3 separate regions of the Homo sapiens genome follow, and regions 2 and 3 are each linked to region 1. The links are contacts of gene promoters, found by promoter capture Hi-C in human tissues and cell types (Jung and others, 2019). All regions are on one chromosome and are shown on one strand. Each heading gives the region's core, a stretch centred on a gene start or on the middle of the fragment in contact. The rest is flanking DNA. Distances are from core to core; before and after follow the strand shown.

Evidence for each region. The method cuts DNA at HindIII sites, captures the fragments that hold promoters and counts their contacts. A contact is called where the count stands out against the background at its distance.
Region 2: the fragment with the promoter of SLC27A4 here is called in contact with the fragment with the promoter of LRRC8A in region 1 in 1 of the 25 tissues and cell types used here (heart left ventricle).
Region 3: a contact is called between the fragment with the promoter of DNM1 here and the fragment with the promoter of LRRC8A in region 1, in 1 of the 25 tissues and cell types used here (dorsolateral prefrontal cortex).

The regions. Positions count from the first base shown.
Region 1 is chr9:128,880,551-128,883,392 of GRCh38, reverse strand. It overlaps LRRC8A (leucine rich repeat containing 8 VRAC subunit A), which reads right to left and starts at 1,260. Exons shown (of 4, transcript NM_019594.4): 1 at 1,143-1,260. KYAT1-SPOUT1 (KYAT1-SPOUT1 readthrough) reads left to right here and starts at 1,443. Exons shown (of 25, transcript NR_182311.1): 1 at 1,443-1,496. KYAT1 (kynurenine aminotransferase 1) reads left to right here and starts at 1,443. Exons shown (of 13, transcript NM_004059.5): 1 at 1,443-1,496. RefSeq lists a silencer at 914-1,193 and an enhancer at 1,224-1,373. The HindIII fragment of the contact is 17,929 bases long and covers 1-2,842 here.
Region 2 is chr9:128,339,202-128,342,371 of GRCh38, reverse strand. SLC27A4 (solute carrier family 27 member 4) reads right to left here and starts at 1,845. Exons shown (of 13, transcript NM_005094.4): 1 at 1,534-1,845. It overlaps TRR-TCT3-1 (tRNA-Arg (anticodon TCT) 3-1), which reads left to right and starts at 2,206; the gene lies at 2,206-2,296. It also overlaps the pseudogene TMSB4XP4. RefSeq lists an enhancer at 503-682 and silencers at 1,319-1,718, 1,789-2,198, 1,827-2,468. The HindIII fragment of the contact is 12,819 bases long and covers 193-3,170 here.
Region 3 is chr9:128,201,863-128,205,104 of GRCh38, reverse strand. It overlaps DNM1 (dynamin 1), which reads right to left and starts at 1,726. Exons shown (of 22, transcript NM_004408.4): 1 at 1,474-1,726. The coding sequence starts at 1,634. It also overlaps a transcript of CIZ1 not described here. RefSeq lists enhancers at 1-512, 1,944-2,043 and silencers at 801-1,095, 1,664-1,883. The HindIII fragment of the contact is 10,387 bases long and covers 1-1,813 here.

The DNA of each region.
Region 1 (2,842 bases), core at 11-2,510:
CGATCTCCTCCCGCTTCTTACAGCCTGTCTGTCTGCCAGGTTGTCTGCTCCAAAGGGCAGAATACAGTTTGGCAGGGGTTAAGAGTACTACTAACAGAAGAGGTGGAAGAGGTCCTTGGGAACTTCGGGCTCCCCCAGTTCCCTTCCTCTTACCAGGTGCTCTCCCTCCACACCTCATTCTCAAAAGGCTTCCTGAGGTAGGGCAGGGGAAGAGGAGTCAGTGGAAGTGTGGCTCACCCAGGAACCGCCCACCCTTCCAGCCAAGTCTCCATCAGGAGGCGGCTACCAGACAACCCCCGACCCATCCCTCCTTCCCAAAAAAGGCAACAATCGCAACAGCTGAGAACCGGCAGACCTCGGTTCACCCCGGTCCAGATCAAGGGGAAGAAGCAGTCAGCGAAAGCAGCAGAATCATCATGAACTCCATGACCCCAGCTATGCCCCTTCAGCCTGGGAGCTCAGTTTGCTGGGTATCCAGCTCACCTAGGGCTGCACCAGGCCTGGACCTCACTGGATCTCGCCTCGCCCTCGGGCCCACCTGAATGCACAGGACTGGGACAGGGTCTGGGTTCTTAGATTCCGGACCGGTCTTCCCAAATATCCCATCCCAGAAAGGCCCCAAGAGCCTAGCCGGGGATCCTGCCCCCAAGTCAGGGCACTGCCCCCATCGGAACGATAGGAAGGAGGGGTGCAAGGGAAGAGAAGGGGACCAGGAACTCAGGAGAAGACAGCTAAGGAAATCTTTGAAAAAGAAATGGCAAGGAGAGAGCCCAGAGGTGGAACCTCTAGGAACGGGAGAGTGTGTGTGGAGGGGTGAGGATCTGGGGGGACCCAGGGGATGACAAGGGGACATGGGGGAGCCGAGGCGGAAACTCCTGGTTTCTGAAGCACAAGGAGGCACAGGGGTGCCTGGGAGGGGGCTCGCGCGCCGCGGAGCCGGCGAGAAGGTGGTGCCCCGGAGACTCCGGGCACTGGGGAGCCCAGAGGTAGGCCGAACACCGCGGGAGGTCCCCAGGGGGCCGGCCCGGAGACAGAGCCCCAGATGCCCCGGGCGCCCCGGGCCGGGCAGCTGGCCGAGGGCGTGTGTAAGTGGGTTTCGAGAGGTGACAGCTCGCGCCCCTTTCCCCACCCCGTCCACTCACCTGGGCTCGCCGCGCCCGGCCGCCCGGCAGGCAGCCCCAGGCCCCGGCCGCTCCGTCCCGCCGCCGGCCGCAGCGCTGCTCCGGCGCCTCCTTTTGTTTGTCCCTCACTGCACCACTCAGCCTCCTCCGCCCCGGAAGTGACGTCACCGCCGGGCGCGAACGCGGCGGCCAGGGCGTCGCCATCTTTATGAGGAGAATTCTAGCGGCGCTTTCTCCCGCTCTCGCCTCCGCGCTAGCGCCCTGCTGCTTCGGGGCGGAAGTAGCGGAGCCGGGCTCGGCCCCCTTAAAGGGACAGGGACTGCTGCAACCTACGGGGTGTACTTGGGAACGAGGGGTGAAGCGGCCCAGGTGAGGGTGAGTAGCTGTGTCGGAGCGCCACTTCCCCAAGGTCAGGTGCCGAGGCTGGGAGGGTCGGCTAACGGTTCCGAGCTTGGTTGTGCTAGAGTGCTTAATGAGTTTGATGCTACTAAGTATAACGGAGTGGCTGCACAGAATGATTGAGCCGCCCGCGGGAATCAACTGCGCGTGCTGCTCGCTGATTCTCGCTCGGACACTGGGGCTGGTCCTGTCTGCACCCAAATCCCCCTCCCACGACCGCGCCGGTGGAGATGATACCCGAGACAACAGAATTCTGGACAGATCTGGGGTTGGAATTGGGTCCCCAGACTCCAACTCTGCAGCTCCATAAATCCCGCTGGGTCCTCGCAAATTCCCTGGCTGATAACAGTACCGGCAACCAAATTAAAAAATAATCCATACAGTGGAATACTGTGCAGCCATTAAGACGAACAATGTTTAATATGCACTAATGTAGGGTGACTTCTAAGATACCTTAGGTTAAAAAAGGAAACAACAGTAAAAACAGCGTTGGGCCGGTTGCGGTGGCTCACGTCTGTAATCCCAGCACTTTGGGAGGCCGAGGCGGGCGGATCACGAGGTCAGGAGATCGAGACCATCCTGGCTAACTTGGTGAAACCTCATCTCTACTAAAAATACAAAAAAATCAGCCGGGCGTGGTGGTGGGCGCCTGTAGTCCCAGCTACTCTGGAGGCTGAGGCAGGAGAATGGCATGAACTCGGGAGGTGGAGCTTGCAGTGAGCCGAGATCGCGCCGCTGCACTCCAGCCTGGGCGACAGAGCGAGACTCCGTCTAAAAAAAGAAAAAACAGCGTTGATGGGTGCTATCCATCTTTGCGTAGAAGGACGCCTGAGGGTGGGCGTATCTGCGGGTGTGCGCGCCAGCTGTCTGATAAGATGCACAAGAAGTTGTTAATTGCGGTTGTCTCCGACAGAATTGGGGTCTTGGGTACCTGGGCCAGGGCGAGAAATTTACTACCATGTGCACAGATAGATAATTAAAAATAAGATGATGAAGATAGTCGTGGCTCCCATCCATCACGTGTTAAGCCAATGCCTAGTTTCACTTCTGTTGGGAGGTCTTATTTTTCCCTTTTAATAGAAGAGAAAAGAACCTTAGAGAGGTTAGGAAACTTAGCAATATCATAGCCAGGGCCGGGCGCGGTGGTTCACACCTGTAATCCCAGCACTTTGGGAGGCTGAGGCGGGCGGATCACGAGGTCAGTAGATCGAGACCATCCTGGCTAACACGGTGAAACCCCGTCTCTACTAAAAATACAAAAAAATTAGCCGGGTGTGGTGGCGAGCGCCTGTGGTCCCAGCTACTCGGGAGGCTGAGGCAGG
Region 2 (3,170 bases), core at 596-3,095, 540 kb after region 1:
CCTCATTACGATTCGCTTGCTTGCTTCTCCTGTTCAATCGTTTCTTTGGAAGGCAGTGGATTTTTCTCTTGCATCTCTGTCTTCTTCAGTTTCGACTTATCGAATTTCTCAATCTCAGCCATATCGGGTTTGTCAGACATGGTTGCGGAGGAAAAGCGGAGCGAGGCATGCGAGAACGAGCGAAGTCTGGTCTGCGCAGTGGCCACCACCGAGTTGTCCTGAGACGTGTTCTAAGAGGCTTTTCTAGCCAAAACATGACAGTTCACTCTTCTGACATCCAGGGTCCCTAAAACCGGATGGCCTGGGGGTGGGTACTGACTTAAGAGCCTCTGGCTCGCTGGCAGTGGTGGCTCACACCTGTAATCCCAGCACTTTGGGAGGCCGAGGCAGGCGGATCATGACGTCAGGAGTTCGAGACCACCCTGACCAAGATGGTGAAACCCTGTCTCTACTAAAAATACAAAAATTAGCCAGGCATGGTGGCACACACCTGTAACCCCAGCTACTCAGGAGGCTGAGGCAGAAGAATTGCTTGAACCCGGGAGGCGGAGGTTCCATTGAGCCGAGATTGTGCCACTGCACTCCAGCCTGGGAGACAGAGCGAGACTCCGTCTCAAAAAAAGAAAAAAAAAGTCTCTGGCTCGACTCCCCACCCAGAACCCAGGGAGGTTCTGTGGATGACCAGGCCAAGTCAAAGGGGCAGCTCCCTGGAAAAGGAGCCCTGCTTGGTCCCTGCCCATAGACTCAGGTATCGCAGTGCGTCTGTTGGTCTATAGAGGGCGACCCAGAAAACGAGTTAGAGCCTGGAAGTGCTTGAAAGGTGACCGCCCAGGGGGCAAAGCTGATTGAGGGAGGCGAGGAGGACCTTGAAGACACCACCACCCATCACACAGACACACACAGCCACTCGGATGAATCTTTGGGGTCTAGGGCTTAGGGGAAGGCGAATGACTTGACTGTGCTTCAGGGGCTGGGTTGAGCTAGGACTCTTGGGTTCTATTCCTGGAGCTTTGAGGACTCGATCAAGGGGACATCTGATGGGACTGTTTTTCTCCGAGTTTTCCTGTTCTTGGGAGTAGATGAAGGTCACAAATGTGAAATGGCCTGAGAGCCTCCAAGCCAGGAAAAGGGAATGGTCTGGACCACAAGAAGCCCTGGGAGACCATCTCCCCCTCCCCCTCGCGAAAAGCAAAAGCCGGGGGCGGGGGAACTGAACCAGAGTCCTCAACCCCAACGCCAGGGTCCAGGGTCCTCAGATCTCTGGCCTCCCATAGCCCGCCATAGCAGAGGGGCAGGAACCTGTCCTGGAAGGCTGGGGCAAGAAGAGGCCAGAAGAGGGTGACTAGTTCCCTCGGGCCCCTGTCCCGGGTCACGCGTGCCGCCCTCGCCCCTAGACAGCAAGGTAACAGTGCGTCTGTCGGGGAAATAGCGCCGCAGGGCGCGCCCCCCACCTGGGGTCCGCACCGCCACCTCGCCCGACTCGGCCTGGCACATGTCCCCACCCGGGAACCCACCAGCCCGGTCTATGCTCACCCGGCGTCGGCTCCGCCGCGCGGCGCCCCGTCCAGATGCGGCCCGGTTGCAGCAGCGTAGACAGCGTGAGGGGCATTAGCCGCCCCTGGACGCACGGAGCCGGGTCTCAGCAGGGTTTAGCCGGCTCTGCGCCCTGCATGGCCCGGCCGCCCCGCCAGCCCCGCCCGCCGCCCGGCCCCGCCCGCCGCGCTCCTACCCCGCCCGCCTCCCGCACCCCAAACCTGCTGTGCCAGGCCGCAGCACCGCCTGCCGCACCTTCCCCGAAGCCGGCAAGCCACAGAGCCGGCGGCGCAGCGCAGCCCCAGCGCGCCTGACGCCGCTCGGCCCCAGCCCGCCCTGCTCGCGCAACGGCTTCGGGCGGCGCCGCCGCGCGGCACGCTGGGAGTTGTAGTCCACGCCGCGCGGCCCCACCCAGCCGAGGAGACCCCCGAGTCCGCGAGGAGACAGGCGGGCTTCACCCCGGCCCTTCCTCCCTGCCGACCCCGGCCCTTGCCCCCTGCTGTCCCCAGCGCCCGGATGTAGGAAGAGCACCCCAGTCCACACCACAGCCGAAAACCCGGAGCACGCTCTCGGGCCCCGGCCGAGTTCAGCAAACACCCAGCACCACACCTAGAAGCTCGCTAAGAGGGCGGTTTCAGGCAGAGGTGAGCGGGGCGGCCGGGTTCCGCAGCCGGCTCTGTGGCGCAATGGATAGCGCATTGGACTTCTAGCTGAGCCTAGTGTGGTCATTCAAAGGTTGTGGGTTCGAGTCCCACCAGAGTCGAATTTTGATGGCTCCTACTCCCTGACTTTCACCTGCGTGTTTTAAGGACTCCAGGACCTATCTAACAAATAAGGTTCAGAACGAAAATCATAAGTCACACCCAACTTTGCTGCGACACAGCCATAAACCTGGTGTCTAGGTGACTACGAGAAATCCTTTCTCGTACCATGGTGTCTTGTGAGCAGCCTGGCACACCTGTTGGCACAAAGGACACGGATTTGGAGGCCCTTAGTTAACTTCACCATCTATGATCTCTGGTCCCTGCAACAAATCAGTTAACCTATATTTGTCATGCCACCCTTATTTGTCATGCCACCTCCAGAGCCATAGGCGAGTGGCCAGATTCTCGGCCCTGTTGGGACTCTTGGCCTCTGAAAAATTGGTTTCTTGTTAAGTAACCATGTTGGGCATCCACAGTTGCCACTTGTCCTTAAACATTAATAGATCCCTGGGAGGCTGAGGCAGGAGAATTGCTTGAACCTGGGAGGCGGAAGTCGCAGTAAGCCGAGGTTGCGCCACTGCACTCCAGCCTGGGCGACAGAGCAAGTCTCCATCTCAAAAAAAAAAAAAAAAAAAAAAAAAAAAAAGATTCTGGGACTGGCGTGGTGGCTCAAGCTTGTAATCCCAGCACTTTTGGAGGCTGAGGCAGGAGGATCACTTCAGCCAGGAGTTCAAGACCAGCCTGGGCAACATAGTGAGACTCTGCCTCTACAGGAAAAAAAAAAAAATTAGCCAGGTAGCTCTTGCTTGTACTCCCAGCTACTCAGGAAGATGAGGTGGGAGGATTGCTTGAGCTCTGGAACTTGGGGCTGCAGTGAGCTGTGATTGCACCACTAAACTCCACCCTGGGCAACAAAGTAAGACCGTGTCTCAA
Region 3 (3,242 bases), core at 477-2,976, 680 kb after region 1:
GGAGAGACAGATGCCTTCCCCTCTGCTGACCAGATGGGCACGGCCGCCCCCACGGTGGCCTTCCAACGTCCCACACACACATGGCTCCAGTCAGGCCCTCTCCCTCTCACCTCTAGGGCTGGCATGGGTTTCCCAGGACATTTGAGGGGCAGGAACAACCACCCAGTCCCACTGTCCATGTTAGAGATGGGGACACTGAGGCTCAGAGAGGGCAAGTGACTTGCCTGAGGTTTTGCAGCAGAACCTGGCTTGGACAGAACTGCTGTACCTCTGCGGACAAGGGCCCCTGCCTCCCTCTCCCATGTGCCAGTCACTTTTTTGGCCCTGAAGGTCATTGGAAGAAAGCAAGAGTTTCTGAAGAAGATGGGGGGGAGATGAAAGACGGGGTCAGTGTAAACTCTCTCACTTCATCCCCCAGTCTGCCCAGCCCCCCAACCCACCTCCAGTACCTGGAGAGCTCCTATCTTTCTTCTCTCTCCTCAGCACCAGAAAAACTATTTCTGCCTCCCTTTGGGGGTTTGTGGGGAGCCTGCGGGTCACGACCCTGCCTGCCCCGCTAAACCCACGACCCTTTGTCTTTGCGGTTGTTCCTCTCTCCGCCACCTAGGCCTCTCAGCGCCTTGTGGGATCAGAGGCGGGAGGGGGATTAGGTTCTGCAAATGGCTCCCCCCTCCCGCCATCCCTGTCTTAGTCATCTCTGCCCTCTGCCGCCTCTCCCTCCAACACGATTCCTCTGGCCAGGCCAAGGGGAGGGCGACACTGACAGGCGCCCCCCACCCAGGGGCCGTGGCGAAGCAAGGGGCCGGCTGCTCAGAAAAGGATAAGAAGTGGTTTCTCCTCCCCTCTTCCCTTCCTCATCCTGCAGCCCGCGCCTCCCCCCTCGCCGCGCTGCGCACGGATGGCGGCGGGAGCCGCAGAGGTGTGTGTGTGCTGGCGGGAGGCCGTGCCCGGTCCTCGATGCCCGCGGGACTACGTCCTCTTCTAGGGACTGGGATGCGGGGGCTGACCTCTGCCACGGCCCAGGAATTCCCATGGGGGTAGGGGGATGTCCCCCATTGAGCCCGGTGTGGGGGACGCTGCCCCCGGGTGCTGCCCGCTCCAAGGGACTCCCGGAGCCCAACGGAGACGCTGAGTAATGCGGGCTCTCTCCATGCCCATGTTGGGGGCGGGGGGCAGCTCTTTGCCCGGGGCTTCTGGCAGAGCGTTGTCTGCCCTAAAGGATGGGACGGAGGAGGGGGCGTGATTCGGTAGCCGGAGGCTTGACGACGTTTGCAGACTAGCGGGGGGCGCTGCTGCCCCGAGGGGCTCTCGTGGTGGGGGGAGGGCCTCCTCGCTCCGGCTGGGGGTGGGGGGCGCGCCGGCCGCGGGTGCAGCGTCGGGGGCTGCGAGGTCGCCGCGCCGTCAGTGCCCCGGGCGGGGACTCCAGGGATCCCGGGGGTCGGGGGTCGGCGCCTGGGGGCGCGCCGCGCCTACCTGCCTACGAAATTCTCGAGCACCGAGCTCTTGCCGGCGCTCTGGCCGCCCACCACAGCGATCTGCGGCAGGTCGAGGTCCGCGTTCTGGCCGATGGCAGAGAAGGCGTCTTGCAGCCGGTTGACCAGCGGGATGAGATCTTCCATGCCGCGGTTGCCCATGGCTGCGGCGGGCCCCGCAGGCTGCGATCCGGCTGCCGCTAGCGCTCCCGGCTCCGACTCCGGCTCCGCCGCTGCAGCCGCGCGCCCAGACTGCCTGCGCCGCGGGGCCCCCGCCCCTCGGGGATCGGAGCGAGCACCGCTCCCGGACGCCGCTAGGGGGAGCCCGCGGCGCTGCGGGCCGGCCGCCGTGCGCAGGCGCCGTCCGGGGCATCATGGGTGTCGTAGTTTTCACCTTCTGCGGCTTTTGGGGTGCTTTAGCAGTGTCTGGGGTGCGCGGATGCTGCGCAGAATATATTTGTCAATGGGTTGGGTCTCACTCCTAGTACCAGGCCTCTTGGAGAGTGGTCTGGATGTTTCACTCCATCTTACCGATGAGGAAACAGGCCTGGAGAGCAGATGGGCTTCCTCTGAGGTCACAGCCTCCTGACCTCAGAGGTCAGAACTCCGAGATGAGTTCCCCTTCATCTCGCTGGCTTCTATCCCTAGATCCTGACTCTGATCTCCAACATGTCCTCTTCTGCCTTTGGTCCTCAGTTTCCTTGTTTCTAGAAGGAGAAAGTTGGAACATGAATTCAACAAATATTTACTAGGTACCTGCTAGAAGCCAGGCCCTGTCCTAGGCACTGAAGATTCAGCAACGAATAAGACAGCCAAGGCCTCTGCCCTCATAGATCTTGCATCAAGCTGGGGAGACAGACAGTAAATAAGTAAGCAGATAAATGAAATAGTAAAAATGAAAATAATTCATAGTAAGAGGGATGGAGGAAATAAACAGGGTGAAAAAAGGTATCTTTGTGGGTGTGGAAAGTTCACATTGGCTTGGCAGGAGTCGGGGGTGTTCTCTGCAGAAGTGACATTTGAGAAGAGACCAAAATGATGAGAAGGAGCCAGCAGCAAGCAGATCAGGGGAAGAGCATGCCAGGCTGAATGACCAGCAAGTGCAGAGGCCCTGACACCTGGAGGGCCCTTCTTGGGAGAGTTGGAAGCTCTTGTCCTAGAGAGTGGAAGTCTTTGCTCCAACCCATCAGGATGGTGGTAAAACAGCGTAAAACAGTGGGATTCAAATCCAGGGCTCCTACAATCCTACCCTGCGTACCCTTTCACACAGACAGACCATGGGGCCCTGAGCCCAGCCGTCCATCTCTGCATTTAAGAAACCTAATTAGTATTCACGGTGGAGGCTAGGAAGGGAAGGCTAGCCTACACTGTGCTCATGGGGAGTCGGTGAGTCATTTCCCTGCGCTGTGAACAGTGTGGGGGCACTGCTGACAAAGTGGTCTGTGAATTGGAGACTGTTCACTTACTCATCCATTTAATGCGTATTTGTTGAGCCAGGTACTATGCTAGACTCCAGAGATAAAGCAGTGAGCAAAACGGACAAAGTCCTTACCCACATGTGGCTGACAATTCAGTGGAAAAAGACAGACAATATGCAAATAGGGCAATAACGATGGCCCTGTTAGATGGCGTGCCCTGCAGAGCAAGAAAGCAGGGGCGGGGTAGGGTGGTGTTGCTATTGTGAAGATGGTGATCAGAGAGTGACCCTTGTGGGGAGGAATCTTCGAGGCAGGCATGGGGAACAAGCAGGCCCTCTCCCTGGTAGCACCA